4 separate regions of the Homo sapiens genome follow, and regions 1, 3 and 4 are each linked to region 2. Evidence: promoter capture Hi-C in 16 types of primary human blood cells and fetal thymus (Javierre and others, 2016). All regions are on one chromosome and are shown on one strand. The core of a region is centred on a gene start or on the middle of the fragment in contact, and the rest is flanking DNA. Distances in the headings are between cores, read along the strand shown.

Region 1 (5,295 bases), core at 1,911-4,410, 320 kb before region 2:
TTCAGATAGAACTTAACTGACCAAAAACCAGGTATATACCTACTGCGCTGGTCAGAGGTGTGCAATACATCACTGCTCTTTTCCACTGACAATGTTATCTGAAGTTAGTGGACTGCACGCATTTTACCTTGTTACTATGGAGTTAAGGGAAACATCTAGAGGAAGTCAGAACTATTCAAATACTAGGGAATGGGGCTTGTAGCTTTATCTGAGATACTTAGGAAAAATCAAAAGGGTAATAGCACCTTCGGCCTTCAGGGAAAAGAATATTATGTTCCCAGCAACAAGTAGGCATGTGGCAGTGAATGGCTGATGGGTCCAGGATCAGTGACAGCTCTGTATTCGAAAGCCCCTCAGTCCCAGTCCTTGGGGCAGCCGGTCAACCACATCAACCTCTGTTTTAGAGCCATCCCCGTGCTAAACGTTTCTCATCTCTCCTTCAGCATAGCCTTTGCCTAGGCAGGACTAGGGGATAGGCCTTCTCCTAACTAAAGAAGGAACATTATTTTACAGGGGAAAGGCAGCTTGGCCCCATGGCTGGCCACAGTCAGTTCCTTCTTGAGGCTCCCACATGCCCCAGGAAGCCCATCCTCCTCTGGGAAGTCCCTACAAACACTTGTCAATGAGTCAGAAACATGCATTCGGGTTTTCCTTCAGCTTTCTTTTTTTGTGGTGTGTTGTTATTCATACACTTCTAAATTGTTTTCTCACTTAGAGACTCCAAATTTACCTCCAAATTACCCCAGCTTCAGTTAGGCCAACTTTTAGGCTGAAAAAAGATTCAGCCTAAAACGTTAAACCAGCAGTTTAGTGGCAGGCTGGAGAAGAGAACCTCTGCTGTTTGTAAGAAGCCTGCAGTTTATACAGCATTTCACTTAGCACCCTCCCCCAGCAACCTCTACCTGGCAGTTTAGCTGGTTTGATGTTTTAGGGCTGAGATAACTCAGCCATCTCTGAAAGGCCAAATGTTTATAGAGTGAGATAGAAATATACTCATATCATGAAACGAATTCAGAATTGGAAAAAATAAAGTCATAAAGAAGGAATAACTTGCTACCCAGACTATACAGGTGTTTTCAGGCCTTCCCCCTCCCCTCTTCCAGGGCAGTGGCCCCTATTCTTTCCTGCCAATGCAGAATCCTCTGCTAACATTCCAGAGATGAGCCTCTTTAACTCCCTCAAGCTTTCAGGAAGGCACTGCCTACCCATTAAAGCCAATAAAAGGCTCATCGTGAGTGAGCTCTGAATACTGGCACAAAATGTCTTTTAATATATATTATTAATGGATTTTTTTCTAAATTAGATCCTGTACAAATTGTCCTCGGTCATTCTGTGCCTCTGGTAGCAGCTTTCTCTGGCCAGTTAGCCGGGGAACAGTAGGGAGGGGGTACAGTAGGATGAGGCTGAGGAGGGACCCAGCCCACAGCTCTTTGTGGTCTATGCAGGGTAGAAACTGCTCTCTGTGGAAACATTGGCTGCACTGAAGGCACCCAAAGAGCATCAGGAAAATAGGATCTAGGAAAATGCAATGGTTTTTTGTTTGTTTGTTTTGTTTGTTTGTTTGTTTGTTTTTGTGAGATGGACTCTTGCTCTGCCATCCAGGCTGGAGTGCAATGGCACAATCTCGGCTCTGCAACTTCTGCCTCCCAGGTTCAAGCAATCCTCCTGCCTCAGCCTCCCCAGTAGTTGGGATTACATGAGTGTGCCACCACGCCTGGCTAATTTTTGTATTTTTAGTAGAGACAGGGTTTCGCCATGTTGGCCAGGCTGGTCTCAAACTCCTGACCTCAGGTGATCCGCCCGCCTCAGCATCCCAAAGTGCTGGGATTACAGGTGTGAGCCACCGAGCCCAGCTGGAAAATACAATGGCCTTTAACACAGAACTAAAGTAGCTTCCAAAATGCAGTCACTTTTTAGTAATTTGAAAATCTATAGGTAAAATCACTATTATTTTAAAAGCTAGAAGAATGAATGTTTACTGCATAAGGTCATGACAGACCCCTATTGACTTCAGTAGGGGGGGCACCATGTTTGAGCGGCCAAAGAAAAGACCTGGAGCCAGCAAATGAGACATAGGGTTTATTGAGGGGGACTCACATGCAGGGCAGTCCAGTGGCAGCAGGCTAGAGAGGAGAACCGCTACTGTTTGTAAAAGGCAGGCAGTTTATATAGCATTCTCACTTAGTAACCTCCCCCAGCAACCTCCACCTCCCAACCTTCATTTAACCCAAAACAAAGGGCCTGGATCCCCCATATGGCCTGCTTTCCACGGAATGGGCCAAGGGTTCAGATATTCCTTATAGATAAGGAATGAATCTTTGGAATGGCCGCTCCCAGGTTCCTTAGTTTGGAACTCCAAACACACACGCTTAGACCATAGGGTCATTCTCAGGACATGCTGAAGTTATTGCTGTCAGGTGTGTCTGCCATCCAGTAGGAGGCACTATGTGTCAGCACCTACCATGCCTTACCTGATCTCTACAGCTACTCAGAATAAGGCTCTGAGGTTGCTCACAATTTATCTCAACTTAGGTTACTCTGCTAACTAGTGGTGAAGCCCATGTCTTTTTAGCACCAGGACAAGAATATTTTCTGACAGCCTTCAGTGTATTGATCTAGGTATTACAAATCCCCCCAAACTTCATTCCTTCTTTGAGCAAAAAAAGCTCACCATAGAAGACAGGGGAAAAAAGTCAAAGTCCTGTGACAAATTAGAATAAAAGACTGTAGATAGGGAAGCTGCCTGATTAAAGTTCAAGAGGAGTTTCCCATATTTTTATGATGTTTCAGAGGGAGAAAAGGAGACAGAGAGGAGGCCTGATATAAAACCTGCTGGTGCAGCTGGACCCATCATTAATCCATGTTTGTTTCTGTCCCCACAGGTCCTGCCGATCGTGGTTTTCTTCAGCACTGTGATGTCCATGCTGTACTACCTGGGACTGATGCAGTGGATTATTAGAAAGGTACTGGGGCTGGGAGGGACTGGGTTATAGGTGTAGAGCTGATTATCTCAGGCACGAAGTCCTCAAGGCCTTTTATGCAGGTATTTACGAAGTGCCTTTCTCTTCCTACCATTATCCACCATCACCACCTAAGTGATTAGATTCAAAACCTCCAATCCTAAATGTGTCCATGGAGGGAATTTTATCTCAGGAGCTTCTAATAGGGTTTTGATTTGCAAAGCACTGGATATCTTCATGAAACTATAGCAGTTACTTCTTTAGCGGAGGAATTGAGGTCAGATACTGCTGGGGGAAATGATGTTATTCCTTCATCTTGGTTAACCGCCCTGTGCTTATCTTTTTTTCTTTTTTAAGCTACTCCTTAATTGTATGCTACCTTGCTTAAGGAGGTTACAAAAGTAGACACTTCTGGTTTTGGAGGTGCTAGAGAAATTGAAGCAAAAAGGAGAAACAGCTTTTCACTCCTGAGGGAGTTTCATAAGCATGAGCGTGCATGCATACACACACACATACACACACACAGCTGAAGAGTTCATGTCCTTCCTGCTGCCCTAGCCTCAATGAGTCCTATGTTCATGTGTTAGATCAGAGGACAAGGAGCTCCGTCAGCTAATTTGGATGCACCACACACGAGCACAGAGCAGTGCAGGCAGTGCTTGGGGCACAGCCCCAGCCCTCCTTGATCCCAATAAATAAATCAAAATGTACAAAAAGGAAGAGAAGAGAGAGAGGGAACCAGAATACAGGTAGTAGCAGAGTTCAGAATGACAGCAAGAACTCCAGGGCCCATAATTTCCTGTTTAAACCCCAAAACATTCAGAATTGTTATGCTCTTGTCTAAACTAAAAAGCAAGGAGAGAGAATGCAACAGGAAGTCCTCATCCACCATCTCTAGTTGAAAGGCCAGTACAAAAGTGGAACCAAAAACCACGTTCATTTCAATTAAGTAAAAAAGACCAAACCTCAAATACATCCTGCTACATATGGGTGACCTTTGACAAAACAACTAAACTGTTCTGTGCTTTGGTTTCCTCTTTAATAAAATGAGTATAATTACATAGGACCTCTCTCAAAGAGTTATTGTAAGAATTAATTGCATTTTCTGGACTGTCAAGGGCTTAACACAGTGCCTGGAATGCAGTAAAGCCTTCCATAAGCATGTTAGCAATTGTCATTTATTACTTGTATACAATAGACCTATAGAAATTGATTTGTATAATGTTCAAAGTATACGCAATGACTCAGACTTACTACTCCAATAAGAGGATTTGCTTGGCCTGCTCTAGGGGCTCAATAAGTTAAACTTACCTTTAGCTCCATCATTAGCTTGCTGACAAATGTTGAAGCCCTCAATATTTTACACCAGTTTAAGGATTTTAATCCCTACTTTGAAGTTTTGGGTATACAAAAAGTTCTTTGCTGACTTTGTCCCTTTCTTCCTTTTAGGTTGGATGGATCATGCTAGTTACTACGGGATCATCTCCTATTGAATCTGTAGTTGCTTCTGGCAATATATTTGTTGGACAAGTAAGTTGTAATATCAACAGAACAAAACATCTGTTGAAATGGATCGTCTCTTTCCAAAAAGCCAAATAAGAAAATAACACAATGTTCTTTTAGTGTAGAGAAAATGGTGTCAAAATAAGAAACCCCCAGTATTGGCAATGTCCGGATTCCAGGGGGAGAAGAGAGAGAGACAGAGAGAGAGAGAGAGAGAGACAGAGAGAGAGACAGAGAGACAGAGAGACACAGAGAGAAATTCCTTTTAACAGTCTGGGTATGGTATGTAGAATTGGGTTCTTGAGAATGTTTATGAAGAGGATGGAAGGTTGTCATTTTATTAAGGCATAGACATAGAGCTTCTCATATAGATTCTCAATAAATCTGAATTTAGTGATTGTGAGGTTTCTGGTCAACTCTTCAGAGGCTGGTAGCTCTTCCACTTGAATGGATTTCACTATCTCGAAATCTCCAAGCTACAAACAGCCTCCCATTCTAAACTATAATGCCTGTGGCAATGGAGGAGACCAAGAAAGCCTTTCCACCAACAACCATGCAACTGCGTAAATACTTGAGCTTATTCTCAACTTGTCTGAACTGGCCAATATTCTGTCTTTGCTGAGCCTGAAGAAAAATGCTTTTAGGTTTTTCTCTTCTCATCAAAAATAAGCTTTTAGACTTCAATTTTCACCTCCCTGTTCCATCACATGGAGAAACGCTCTTTTGCCTGAAGCCCATTTAAGCAAATAAATATCATGCCAAGGAGTGTCCCTCAAAATAGCAGCATGGCTAAGGGGTGGATCAGTAAGAAATTGTAATAAGCCCCTCATCA
Region 2 (2,859 bases), core at 360-2,859:
TCATTTTTATTATGGTGTTATTTGAATGTTAATAATAATTTTGTGGTAACAGCGACATGCTAAATGGCTGCAGTGTGGGTATGGTGTTGCAGGACCTGAAAATAAAATAGTTTTTTAAGGTGGTGCAGAATGTCCTTTTTGGGCCTGGCTATTGAGGATAATAAGCACATAACTGGTAAAGTTATTGAAATATAAATTCAGGTTGCTCACTGCAACAGTATATTATTGTTATGCTTATAGCAGATAAGTGTGTATTGGGGAATTGTTGATTTGAGACTAAAATTTTATAATTCTCCCTCCACAGTACCAACACTATAAAGGAAGTGACTTTGACTGCGAGTTGAGGCTGTTGATTCATCAGAGTCTAGCAGGAGGAATTATTGGGGTCAAAGGTGCTAAAATCAAAGAACTTCGAGAGGTAAAAAAAAAAAAATTCTGCCGTATTCTTTGCTGGAAAGTAAATTTTCATATAGACTTGTTTCTGTGAGCTTCTCTCGCTTCCCCTCTCAGTTCCCTCCAAAGATTGCTTATCGCAAATGACAAAAAATGTCTGGCACTGCTAGACATGTTATTTTGTCAAAATTTTTATACCATTGCAAAGCCCTGTGATAATTAATGAAGTTTTTATATTGTGGGGGGTTAATTGTTGAATTCAAATGCAATTTTCACTGAACCTAGGAAAGCTAATTTTCTTCTAATTATTATTATTTTTTTTTATGATCTTACTACAGAACACTCAAACCACCATCAAGCTTTTCCAGGAATGCTGTCCTCATTCCACTGACAGAGTTGTTCTTATTGGAGGAAAACCCGATAGGGTTGTAGAGTGCATAAAGATCATCCTTGATCTTATATCTGAGGTACTTCAGAACACTTTTTGTTTACATTTGATTTTATGAAACAAAGTGATAACCTTCTGCAAAAGTAGCTTCAGAGCATTTAGTCTAATAGTCTTTATTTGCCCTTTCCCTAGCAATTTTCTATCACCTGGCTTCAGCCATCACTTTAATTTAAAAATGGTTTTGAAAAAGTGGAGAGTGGTAATTTGTTGGTGGTATTTCTATAGCCTTTGAGCCTTTGAATGAATTTCCTATAGTGTTGCTTGTGTCTTTGTAACTATGCTGCAGGGCTTCCTATCTCAGGTGCCTCAGTATGGATTACAGGCTTGCCAAGACTGATCTCTTCAGCCCTTGTTGTGAAATGTGCATTGTAGTTTGTCATGTGTAAAATGGGAGGGCTTTGTGGTTTCTTACGATCTAAGTGTAAGAGCAAGCTATTACTTCTCCCTGTATAGGCAATAGAACTCACTTTTGTTTAGCATTTGCCAAAAGTATTGGATTTCTTTGGAATCTTTACTTTGCTACTTTTAGCGTTGACATAATTCCTGTTTCTGTCTCTAGTACCTCCTGATGGGGGAATGACTTACATTTTGTTTGATGATGATGTTAGAAGGATTGGTATGAAGCAGGACTCTTTTTCTTCAGTCTGTAAGTTTGTTCCATCTCTGTTTTTAGTCTCCCATCAAAGGACGTGCACAGCCTTATGATCCCAATTTTTACGATGAAACCTATGATTATGGTGGTTTTACAATGATGTTTGATGACCGTCGCGGACGCCCAGTGGGATTTCCCATGCGGGGAAGAGGTGGTTTTGACAGAATGCCTCCTGGTCGGGGTGGGCGTCCCATGCCTCCATCTAGAAGAGATTATGATGATATGAGCCCTCGTCGAGGACCACCTCCCCCTCCTCCCGGACGAGGCGGCCGGGGTGGTAGCAGAGCTCGGAATCTTCCTCTTCCTCCACCACCACCACCTAGAGGGGGGTAAGTTGTTTTTTTTGTTGTTGTTGTTTTTTCTTCCCCCATCTATGAATTATTAACCTGCAAGAGGCTGCACTTAGTGGTAGACAAGGTAGACTTTGATTTGATATGTGTGGCATGTAAGCACGTTTAGATTACAACAAGTACTATGCTTGCAGAGACCTCATGGCCTATGACAGAAGAGGGAGACCTGGAGACCGTTACGACGGCATGGTAAGAACTTTGGTTTATTACCAGTGTGTTGGGTATGTGAGGGTTGTCACAATGTAGTTCACGTTTTGTTGAAGGTTATAGTGATTAAAAAGTTTTTCTTACAAGTAAATTTTGTTTGGATTACTAGTTAAATAATTCTGTTATTTGCTGCTGGAGGATTACGACTTTATTGAGCTTTGTTCCCCTCGATTACAAAATTGCTGCCTATATATGTACCCTCTTTTGTTTTAATGTAACATGCAAATTAGGCATATTAAAAACAGCTCTATAACAAAATACAATGCGGGTTCATGTTAATGTTTTTATCTCTAACAGGTTGGTTTCAGTGCTGATGAAACTTGGGACTCTGCAATAGATACATGGAGCCCATCAGAATGGCAGATGGCTTATGAACCACAGGTTGAGTATCATAGTTGTTCGTGTGTATATCAGTGATAATTTAAGATGCTTACCTGCTCTCCAGTAAGTTTTTTATTCCCCTGAGGATACTTACTGAAAATAGGATACAGGAGGACTTTGGTTTCCTGAAGAGGGATTTTATGAGATTAAAATACTTGAATAGTGAAGCTGGGTGCAGTGGTGCTCACTCATAATCCCAACTACAAAAGAGTCTGAGGCAGGAGGATCACTTGAGCCCGAGAGTTTGAGACCAGCCTGGGCAACATAGCAAGACTCCATTTTATTAAATGAATTTTTTTAAAGTACCGGTAGTAATTACAACGGCAAAGTAATTTTCTATTTTTTTCTTTCTGTTTTTAGGGTGGCTCCGGATATGGTAAGTTCTCTCCTTTGTGAAGTCAAACATTAATTTCATACTTTTTAAATGA
Region 3 (5,437 bases), core at 1,180-3,679, 340 kb before region 2:
GCCAACTTCAGCAATTAGCAACATTCTGTCATCTTCCCATACTATGTATATTTTTTCTTTTCATGCTGTTTGTTTGTTTGTTTTTTGAGACTGAGTCTCGCTCTGTCGCCCAGGCTGGAGTGCAGAGTGGTGTGATCTCAGCTCACTGCAACCTCTGCCTCCCAGGTTCAAGCAATTCTCCTGCCTCAGCCTCCCAAGTAGTTGGGATTACAAGCACCTGCCACCACGCCCAGCTAATGTTTGTATTTTTAGTAGAGACGGGGTTTCACCATGTTAGCCAGGATGGTCTCAATCTCCTGACCTCGTGATCCGCCCACCTTGGCCTCCCAAAGTGCTGGGATTACGGGCGTCAGCCACCACACCCAGCCCATGCTGTATTTTTATACCAAGAACCCAAGGGTACTACATTGCTGTGCTAATGCAACATTAAAATTACTGTGGGTCATTAATTCAAAACATTGTTAGTGTCTGCTATATGCAAAGAACTGTAGGATATAAGCAACTGTAACAAAAAAGGAAGTATGGCACAATACTTTGATGCATGAATCTTGTACTGTAACTTTTTTTTCATGTTTATTCATTCTTGTGTTTCAGTAAGTAGAAAATGCAATACAACTTGGAATTGCAATATTTGCTGGATTCCTGGGGCCAGTCAGAGATCTAAGTTAAAATTAGAGTCATACACTTGGTCTTTGAAGATGCAGTCATAGTCGTTGGGCTAACAGAAGGCATTTCCTGACACCATTTATCCATTACCTCACTCTAGAAAACGGCAAGTTGAAATGAGATGGGAGAAATATTAGATACCTCAAAAAAGATAAAAGAGACAGGAGACAGGTCCAGTGTTTGTCACTTCTGGAAACAGCAGCTGAGGGGTCCGGACGGCCCTATAAGAGCAAATCTCGTTCAGTTCCTTAAAGTAAAATCAAGACAGCCTCACACACACACAAAAAAGGGCATTTTTCTTATGACCATTACTGCCAGAGATTGCTTTAAACCAAAAAAAACCCATTTCAACATTTCGTAAATCTAACATCTAAGAATAAGGCTATTCAGCCTATGGTTTACCACGTTTTAGTTCATTTTATAAGTTGAAAATCAGTGTGATGTGATAGAAAGGAGAGTGGAAACCTGCCCCTGGTCCCAGCTCTGCCTATTGGAAAGTTATCAGGCCGAGATGAGGGCAATTGTCCTCATTCCTCTCTTCCCCTGGACCACTTTTGTATCAGAACAAAACAAAGCAAAAGTCATATGTTTCTTTTCTTTACTTTCTTTTCTTTTCTTTTTTTTTTTTTTCAGGTAGAGTCTTGCTGTGTCTCCCAGGCTGGAGTGCAGTGGCATGATCTGCCTCTGGGGCTCAAGCAATTCTCCTACCTCAGCCTCCCAAGTAGCTGGGATTATAGGTGCACAACACCACGCCCAGCTAATTTTTATATTTTTAGTAGACACAGGATTTTGCCCAGGCTGGTCTCCCCTCCCACTTCGGCCTCCCATCATGCTGGGATTACAGGTACGAACCACTGTGCCCAGCCGATCATCTGTTTCTTTACAAGCCCAGGATTTGTCAGCTGTTTGTTGAATCGGATGCTTCATCTGAACACCTAATCTTTGTTTGTCTCATCCTCCAAATTCCTCTAGGTATTTTTCATGAAAGAACATCTGTCTTTTGGCTGTAACTTTTTATTTTTTCAATCTGCACTTTTTTCTTAGAATGAAGAAAACTTTCTTGAGAACGAGAACACATCAGGAAACAACTCAATAAGAAGCAGAGCTGTGCAAAGCAGGGAGCACACAAACACCAAACAGGTACAGCAAGACTGTGGTGCATGACTCTAGTACCATGGCAGCCGCTGCGCAACAGGCACCTGAGAACAGTGGGCACAGAAAGCATGGCGCCCCACTGGCACGCAGAGGAACAGATTAAGTGGTAATTAAAGTGTGTGGGGGCATAGTCGTAAAGAAAACACACACGCCCAAACAAAGAGATTTTGTTTTTATCCACCTGTCCTCAGAGTTCCCTGATGGGAAGCATCACTTCACTATTAGGAGTTCCAAGCTCCATCTCAAGGAAAAAGGCATTGGCTTAGACAAAAGCATCTGAGCTTTAACGTAAATGACAGAAACAAGAGGAACCCTCTACTATGGTTCTGAATCTGGGTCCATCATGCACTCGCATTCCTTAGTAGCTTTATACCAGTCCGAGGGACTCTTGCTTAATTTCACTTACATGTTGAATTCTGGACAGGAGTTTATTTAAAGATGGCTTCCTGTTGCCAAAAAGGTGAACAAATTACCCATGTAGGTCACCCCTTAAAAGGTAATTCAGGGCCGGGCACGGTGGCTTATGCCTGTAATCCCAGCACTTTGGGAGGCTGAGGTGGGCGGATCACTTGAGGTCAGGAGTTCAAGACCAGCCTGGCCAACATGGTGAAAACCCATCTCTACTAAAAATACAAAAATTAGCTGGGCGTGGTGGCGTGTGCCTGTAATCCCAGCTACTCTGGAGGCTGAGGCAGGAGAATCACTTGAACCCAGGAGGTAGAGGTTGCAGTGAGCCGAGATGGCACCACTGTACTCCAGCCTGGGCGACAGAGCGAGATTCTCAAAAAAAAAAAAAAAAAAGGAATTTGGGGTGCCCACTAGTGTGTCATTTTGTGAGGAGTTTTCTCGTGGTAAAAGAATCACTTTTTTTTAAAGTAGACAATTTGGAAAACTTATTGTAGCAAAATTTGGAAAACCAAAAAAGGCTTATAATTCAAGAAAAAAAGTCAGTGCCTAACATTTTGGAACACAGCCTTTTTTAATGCAAACATACACCCACATGCATATGTCATCTGTATTGGAATCATACCATGCATAGTACAGTGTTTGGTAACTGTCTATTTTGCTTAATTGATTGTAAAAAATGTTCACTAAGTATTCTTCAACAAACAAAAAAGAAAACAATACTTATGTCCACATAAAAACCTACACATGGATGTTTAGAGCAGCTTTATTTGTAATTGCCAACACTTGGAAGTAACCAAAATGTCCTTCAGTAGGTGAATGAATAAATAAACTGTGGTACATTCAGACATGCAGTGTCTTTCAGCGCTAAAAAGAAATGAACTATCAAGCCATGAAAAGACATGAAGGAGCCTTAAATGTACATTACTGGGTAAAAGAAGCCAATCTAAAATGGCTACCTATTGTGCGATCCCAACTATACGACATTCTGGAAAATGCAAAACTATGGAGACAGTAAATAGTGCTTTCAAGGCATCAGGGGGTGGTAGGGACAAATAAGAAGTGTGGGGTTTTTTGTTTTTTTGAGATGGAATCTCGCTCTGTCAGCAGGCTGGAGTGCAGTGGCACAATCTCAGCTCACTGCAGTCTCCACCTCCCGGGTTCAGGTGATTCTCCTGCCTCAGCCTCCCGTGTAGTTGGGATTACCGGCACCCGTCACTGTGCCCAGCTAATTTTTTTTTTTGTATTTTTAGTAGAGACGGGGTTTCACCATGTTGGCCAGGATGGTCTTGATCTCCTGACCTTGTGATCCGCCTGCCTTGGCCTCCCAAAGTGCTGGGATTACAGGCATGAGTGACCACGCCTGGCCATAAGAAGATTTTTAGGGCCATGAAACTAGTATGCCTGATACTACAATGGTGGATACATGCCATCATACATGCGTCCAAACCCATAGAATGTACAAGACCAAGAGAGTCTCACTGCAGACTTTGGGTGATGGTGATGTGTCCATGTAGGCTCCTCAGTTGTAACAAATGTACTTCTCTGGGTTCATTTGATAGTGGGGAAGGTGAGGGTGGGTAGACAATACATGAAAAATCTCTATAGTTTCAGCTCCATTTTGCTGTGAACTTAAAACTGCTCTTTTAAAAATATTTTTAAAATATTTTTTTCATAAAAACAAAAATTTAGATATTTTTCAATTATAAATGAGGATATGAAGGCTGAGGAGTAGCTACTGGATTTGATAGCAATGGGCCTTGGGTGACATTGGCAGGATGCATTCAGCAGAAGCACAATCACAGTGGGTAGAGAAGTGGGCAGGGTGTGAGGAAGTGACCTCCAAAGAGTAAACACAACTCTCTCCAGCGGCCTGGCTGTGAAAGGAAAGAGCGGTGCAGATGTCCCATGATTGTGGGAGTCAAGGGAGATTTGTAGTTGTTGTTTTTAAAACATGAGAAAAGATGGAAAAATAAGAGCCAACAATAGTAATGTTAGATATACCATAGATAGCAGGTAACTTGGGGTACTTTCACTGCAAGAAAATAATAATGATGACCATTTAAATCAAATATTTACCAAACATTGACTATTGGCTAAGCTGGGAATTAGATAGAAATAAATAAATAAGACTCAACTCCAGCCCTTCCTCAGAAGCTGCAGCTTGGACTCAGCTGGTCTCTCTTACAATTATCCTCACACCTTCCTTGTTCCTAGGGTCCAGCCCAGAAAATGAAGGTAATCTGAATCAGAAGAACAATGGAGTTTGGCCTCGTGGAATTATAGGATTTTTGAGAATTCTTTCATCTCAGACACACACTAATGATTTATTTCTATGATTTCTGTTAAAGAGAATCAAAGGCCACATTGGATATGACAGAAGACAAGTGCTGAGATTTGACATTATACTTCTTAGAGCACACTCAAACTGCTCCACCTCCATCTATTTCCTCCCCCACCAGCTTCTGTACCATTGGTTACAAGAGCCAGGCTTATTATTTGAGACATTATTGGAGACTGGAGACAGGTAGGAAATCCTCTGCCATCCTGGAAATAGGATGGGTCATGGATATTTGAGAGCTCAAACTGTACCTAGAAAGATTGTCCATGAAAAAATGGGATGGGTCAGAGATATCCTACACTCAATTAATTAGAGCAAGGGCTAGCTGAGTAAGGGAAATAGTCCCCTTTAGCCCAACTGATAAAAGGATCCTAGTTCCCAAGGGGAGGCTTATTGGCTCTTGAAGGTGCCAAGCTAGTGTTCATATTCACAGACCAAGCCTTGGGCTGCCGGGGAAATAAATCCAGCTTTGGTCTCAGTCATTTGGAAACCGGGGCTGGCAGAGTACTAGGGGAGATTTATGCAGCTCCTGGTATTAACTTCATTTAGTACTTGGCTGAAAACAGAGATGGGGTTGGTTGATTACAAGAGAGACAGGAGCAAAAAGCACAAATATGAGCCTGTTCCCTTAAGAAAAGGAGAAAATACCAACAGCTCCTTTGGAAGGAAAGGAAGAGTTCAGTATGAACCTGGCATTTTTTGTGTGAGATTATAAGCCGGGAAAAAAAATGTCTGTGCAGTAGATAATAGGAGCCATCTTCTTGCATAATAATTTAAAAGGACCTATTGAAAGTTCTTTGCCCGAGTTCTGAGCAATGAAACCAGGGTCCATTATGCCCAGGATGCTCATTATTCCATCTCTGCTCCAAT
Region 4 (5,555 bases), core at 2,540-5,039, 370 kb before region 2:
TATGCGAGTCAGGTTTGAAAGTAAGTCATGATATATAGGGTTAAATAAAACCCATCTGGGCCGGGTGCGGTGGCTCACACCTGTAATCCCAGCACTTTGGGAGGGCAAGGCAGGTGGATCACTTGAGATCAGGAGTTCAAGACCAGCCTGGCCAACATGGTGAAATTCTGTTTCTACTAAAAATGTAAAAATTAGCCAGGCATGGTGGCACACGCCTGTAGTCTCAGCTACTCGGGAGACTGAGGCAGGAGAATCACTTGAACCCGGAAGTCGGAGGTTGCAGTAAGCTGAGATCTGCCACTGCACTCCAGCCTGGGCAACAGAGCAAGACTCTGTCTGACCAAAAAAAAAAAAAAAAAAACCCATATGATGAGAATTTATGATTTGTAGGGCATGACTCCCCAGACCCCTTAGATCATAATTTGGGCAAGATAAAAAAAAAATCAGAGCTTAGTCCTCAGGTACTGTTATCTCCGTTTTATGAAGGAAGAATCTGAGATACAGAGAACTCAGCTACTTGCCCAAATTCCCATGGCCAGTAAGTCTTCCCACCTCAGCCTCCCAAGTAGCTGGGACTACAGGCACGTACCACCACACCTGGCTAATTGTTGTATTTTTTGTAGAGACGGGGTCTTCCTACATTGCCCAGACTGATCTCAAACTTCTGGGCTCAAGCGATTCTCCCATCTTGGCTTCCCAAAGTGTTGGGATTATAGGCATCAGCCAGGTAGTGGATATTTTGTCTTTGAGCCGTGTGGTATTTGTCACAGCTACTCAATTCTGTCCTTATGGGATGATAGCAGCCTTAGACAATACATAAATCAATGGCCATGTTTCTGTTTTTACAAAACTTTATTTATAGACACTGAAGTTTGAATTTCATATAACTTTAATGTGTCAGGAAATATTCTTCCTTTTAATTTTTTTCAACCATTTAAAAATCTAAAACCCATTCTTAGCTCTTGGGCCATATAAAAGCAGCAGAAGGTTAGGTGTGACCCTCAAGCTGTGGTTGGCTGTAGTTATGAGGTAGAGTCCAGGATTTGAACCCAGACCACAGGTTCCTGCAAGCCTTTAATCATTATGTATACACTGTACAGTCTGTATCATGATAACAAGAAAAGAAAAATAACTCCCACAGTCTGAGCTATGTGAGATATGCAAAATCTATCAGGCCCAGAGAGACTGGGCCTCAGTCACTGATAAAGAGAAAACAAAAATAACTCACACAGTCCCAGCTATGTGAGCAATGCAAAATCTATCAGGCCCAGAGAAACGGAGGGTTGGACTTCAGTCACCACTCAACCCTGTGCCCGGGGGCAATTTTTTTTTGCTTTTGTTTTTTGTCTTTTGTTTTTTTTTTGAGATGGAGTCTTGCTCTGTCACCCAGTCTGGAGTGCGGTGGCGTGATCTCGACTCACCACAACCTCCACTCGACTCACCACAACCTCCACCTCCTGGGTTCAAGCAATTCTCCTGCCACAGCCTCCCAAGTAGCTGGGACTACAGGCATGTGCCACCATGCCTGGCTAATTTTTGTAGTATTTAGAAGAGACAGGGTTTCACCATGTTGGCCAGGCTGGTCTCGAATTCCTGACTTCATGATCCATCTGCCTCGGCCTCCCAAAGTGCTGGGATTATAGGCGGGAGCCACTGTGCCTGGCCAGGGGCAATTGTTTTAAAGGAATTTTGTTCCTGACTGGCTGCCTTTCTGTTCCTAGAATGTGTGATACAAATAGCAATGTATAGCCAATCAATAGCTTATGTTATTTTAATGTAAATAATTGGTAAACAACTCAGAAACTCCTTCTTTTCCTTTAAAATTCACTTGTGGCCAGGCACAGTGCCTGTAATCCCAGCACTTTTGGAAACCAAGGCAGGTGGGAAGATTGCTTGAGCCCAGGAGTTCAAGACAAGTCTGGGCAACATAGTGAGGCCCCCAGTTCTACCAAAAAAAAAAAAAAAATTTAGCCATGGGTGATGGCACCTGTCTGTAGTCCCAGCTACTCGGGAGGCTGAGACAGGAGGATAGCTTCAGCCCAGGAGGTCAAGGTTGCAGCAAGCCATGATCATGCACTCCAGCCTGGGCAACAGAACACACACACACACACACAAGAATCTACTTGTAACTGCTACTAAGTGTATATTCAGAGCAACTTGAATATGTGCTCCCAAGTTGCAATCTCAAACTTAGACCAAATAAACTCTATACTTACATTAAGTTTGTCTCCGTTTTTTCCTTTAGGTTAACAATAATAAAAGTAAATCATTCTCTTTATAGAAAACTCAGCAGCATTTGAAGGAGAAAAAAAAAACACCAACTGCCCATAAAATTAAAAACCGAGAAATAACCACTCATAATACTTGGTATTTTCTTACTTTTTCTTTTTCTTTTTCTTTTCTTTTTTTTTTTTTTTTTGAGACAGGGTCTCACTCTGTCATCCAGATGGGAGGCAGCGGTGCGTTTTCGGCTCACTGCAATCTGTGTCTCCTGGGTTCAAGCGATTCTCCCGCCTCAGCCTCCCGAGTAGCTGGGACTACAGGCGCACGTTATCACTCCTGGCTAATTTTTGTATTTTTAGTAGAGATGGAGTTTCGCCATGTTGGCCAGGCTGGTCTTGAACTCCTGGCCTAAAGTGATCCACCCGCCTTGGGCTCCCAAAGTGCTGGGATTACAGGCGTGAGCCACCGCACCAGGCCTTTTCCATTCTTTTGTCCACAGTTTTGCAGTATTTTAAATTGTACTAGGGGGGAAAATCCCTATTTTAAAAGAATTCTACAGCTAATATTTTCATAAAGCAAAGTGAATTGCTTTATGAAAACAAAGCACTTCTATTCACTTTTGATAATTGAATAGCTGGTCACCTTTCATTTACTTGTCACATATCGGCATTTCTGTAAGCTGGATTTTTGAAAGCAGCCCAGTCTGAAGCAGGGATGTAATAAAAGGTTTTGGAATTAACCAAACTTGAATTTGAATTCTCATTATCCCTTTATTAGCTAAATGACACTAAACAAATTGTTAACTTTTCTGTACTTCAGTATAGAATTTTGAGTTGTTCGGAAGAAGAGCCAAGACCCTTACCTACCTACCTATCTGTCTATGTATCTATCCATCTATCCATCCCTGGTATACAGTAGGTGATCACTGAGGGCGGCATGACCTTATATCCTGTGTTCACTCACCCTCCACCCCACCACCACTCCTAGTCTTTAACACCACCCACAGGAAAACAGAGGATTTCACTAAGCACTATAGAGAACGTGTCCTTTTCTGGCTGGGCACGGTGGCTCATGCCTGTAATCCCAGCAATTTAGGAGGCCAAGGCAGGTGGATCACTTGAGGTCAGGAGTTCAAGAACAGCCTGGCCAACATGGTGAAACCCCGTCTCTACTAAAAATAAAGTCAGCCAGGTGTGGTGGCATGCACCTGTAATCCCAGCTACTTGAGAGGCTGAGGCAGGAGAATTGCTTGAACCTGGGAGGCAGAGGTTGCAGTGAACCGAGATTGCGTCACTGCACTCCAGCCTTTTTTTTTTTGAGACTCCATCTCAAAAAAAAAAAGAAAGAAAGAAAGAAAAAGAAAGTGTCCTTTTCTGTTTTGTGCACCACAAGAGTTTTCTCCCCAGGAGTGCAAATAGGATGCCAAAAATGGGGATAAAGGAAAAGATTAATAAGGTGGGCGGGCCAGCACTAGATGCCTCCACCCCGCCAACCCGCCCGCCTCTCTGCCCCACCCCAACCAGGTGTCAGCCCTAGTCATTCAGGAGATTATTGCAGAAGTTTCCAAACTGAAGCAAGCTGTGCCCAGGTCCCTGTAACAGCAGGTGGCTTTCTGACATCAGCAGAGACTGGTGCTTTTTCCCAGGTACAAAGGACCTCCAGACCAGAGCCAGCCAGCAGCAAAAAGAGCATGGAGCTGAGGAGTACAGCAGCCCCCAGAGCTGAGGGCTACAGCAACGTGGGCTTCCAGGTGAGCAGAGCTTTCCTCTTATGTTAAAGGCCTTCAGTGGAAAAGCTGCCCTTTCCTTAGCCCCTTGGCAAGTTTCTTACCTAAGCAGGGAGATTATCAGGACAATACGATTTTTAACGGCACACTTTAAGCCCATTATTTTTTCTTCTTGGGCTCTTCTGGGTTGACAAACCTGAAAAGTCTCTTTTAATCGATGTGTTGTGATCCCTATGGTCACTTAGAAACAAGACAGCCTTCTTCTCTTGCCTTTTTTCCCTTCTGGCTCACAGCAGGGGTCCATTATTTATCTTCAGGCACTTTTCCAAAGAACTGGTGAGAAGGGAAAAATGGGGGAATTTAGATCCTGGCTGGGGTAGTGTCTCAGGGTTCCTTTTACTCAAGCCAAGTCCTGGAGCCCCTGTCAGATGGCCCCGGTACCTGCCCCAGAGCAGCTGGATTACGCAAATCAGTCTCACTTCATCAACCAAAACTCACTGAGTGATTAATGCTGCTCAGCCCGAGGCTGGGTGCCCGCAGAGACATAGAAGGAGACCTGTCAGAAACACCAGGCTATTTTGACTGGGTCTGGGATGGGGATTTCCAGGGCTGTTTTTAGGTGTGCTTCCTTTCCTTAGCTGACACTCAGCATGGGCGCTCTGGAGAAGATGGGAAGCCTGCACCGGCAAGTGTCAACAATCCCTTGGACTTTACGGTCTGCTAGATGGGCAAAACAAAACTTTGAGGTGCTAGCCAAGAAAGGAAAGAGGGAGGTAAAAGGGCTTTGACAGGAGTTCAGACTCCAGCACCCACAAATTCCTGTAACTTCCCAGAGCCCAAGTTTGATCATCTGTCCCATGGTCACAGTGATGCCCATCTCCATGAGTAGGCATCGGGTTACCACTTATAGGTCACAAGTGTAGGAGAGGAAACAACTTCATCTACCCTCTTAGGTTGAGTGCCTGAGGCCTGCAAATTAAACCAACATAAAACAGATTAGCAGGAGAAAAGGCACGCAAATTTTATTCATATTTAAAATCTCACATGTGGCTGGCAGTGGTGCCTCATGCCTGTAATCCTAGCACTTTGGGAGGCTGAGGCGGGCTGATCATTTGAGGTCAGGAATTTGAGACCAGCCTGGCCAACATAGTGAAACCCCATCTCTACTAAAAATACAAAAATCAGCCGGGCATGGTGGTACATGCCTGTAGTCCCAGCTACTCGGGAGGCCGAGGCAGGAGAATCACTTGAATCTGGGAGGCAGAGGCTGCAGTGAGCCAAGATCGTGCCTCTGTACTCCAGCCTGGTTGACAGAGGGAGACTCAGTCTCAAAAAAATAATAATAATAAAATAAAATCTCACATGTATGAGAGCCTCACATAAAAGAAACGGAAAAACCTAATAGACTCAGGAGCTTATATACCATTAAAACAAAGCACGGCAAATAGTGAAATGACTAGACAAAGGAAAAGAGGGTTATGCTTTTAGGGACAATAAAGTGGGGGTGGGAGGTGGAAATAATGGAAGATAAGGGTTAATTTATCGAGGTTTGTTCATGCAGATTTATCTCAGCGGCATCTCTGTCTTTGGTGATAAGGGTTGCTCT

What was found. Contacts are between HindIII fragments. The CHiCAGO score rates a contact against its expected background, and 5 or more counts as called.
Region 1: a fragment that was not itself captured here is called in contact with the fragment with the promoter of HNRNPK-AS1 in region 2 in 1 of 17 cell types (M0 macrophages); the score reaches 5.7 in M0 macrophages.
Region 3: a fragment that was not itself captured here is called in contact with the fragment with the promoter of HNRNPK-AS1 in region 2 in 2 of 17 cell types (naive B cells and M2 macrophages); the score reaches 7.8 in naive B cells.
Region 4: a contact is called between the fragment with the promoter of SLC28A3 here and the fragment with the promoter of HNRNPK-AS1 in region 2, in 1 of 17 cell types (M2 macrophages). The highest score is 6.6, in M2 macrophages.

Annotation. Positions count from the first base shown.
Region 1 is chr9:84,291,863-84,297,157 of GRCh38, reverse strand. It overlaps SLC28A3 (solute carrier family 28 member 3), which reads left to right. Exons shown (of 18, transcript NM_001199633.2): 9 at 2,883-2,963; 10 at 4,410-4,490. Among named protein-coding and RNA genes, the nearest start is that of SLC28A3-AS1, 16 kb to the right of the region's middle. RefSeq lists enhancers at 527-1,056, 3,234-3,313, 3,704-3,763. The HindIII fragment of the contact is 3,950 bases long and covers 1,186-5,135 here.
Region 2 is chr9:83,970,845-83,973,703 of GRCh38, reverse strand. HNRNPK-AS1 (HNRNPK antisense RNA 1) reads right to left here and starts at 1,609. Exons shown (of 2, transcript NR_186535.1): 1 at 1,427-1,609. It overlaps HNRNPK (heterogeneous nuclear ribonucleoprotein K), which reads left to right. Exons shown (of 17, transcript NM_031263.4): 9 at 305-418; 10 at 732-860; 11 at 1,515-1,822; 12 at 1,978-2,032; 13 at 2,348-2,431; 14 at 2,792-2,807. The HindIII fragment of the contact is 2,844 bases long and covers 755-2,859 here.
Region 3 is chr9:84,309,728-84,315,164 of GRCh38, reverse strand. It overlaps SLC28A3 (solute carrier family 28 member 3), which reads left to right. Exons shown (of 18, transcript NM_001199633.2): 2 at 1,711-1,806. Among named protein-coding and RNA genes, the nearest start is that of SLC28A3, 28 kb to the left of the region's middle. The HindIII fragment of the contact is 7,197 bases long and covers 1-5,437 here.
Region 4 is chr9:84,338,992-84,344,546 of GRCh38, reverse strand. SLC28A3 (solute carrier family 28 member 3) reads left to right here and starts at 3,789. Exons shown (of 18, transcript NM_001199633.2): 1 at 3,789-3,973. The coding sequence starts at 3,914. The HindIII fragment of the contact is 9,909 bases long and covers 1-5,555 here.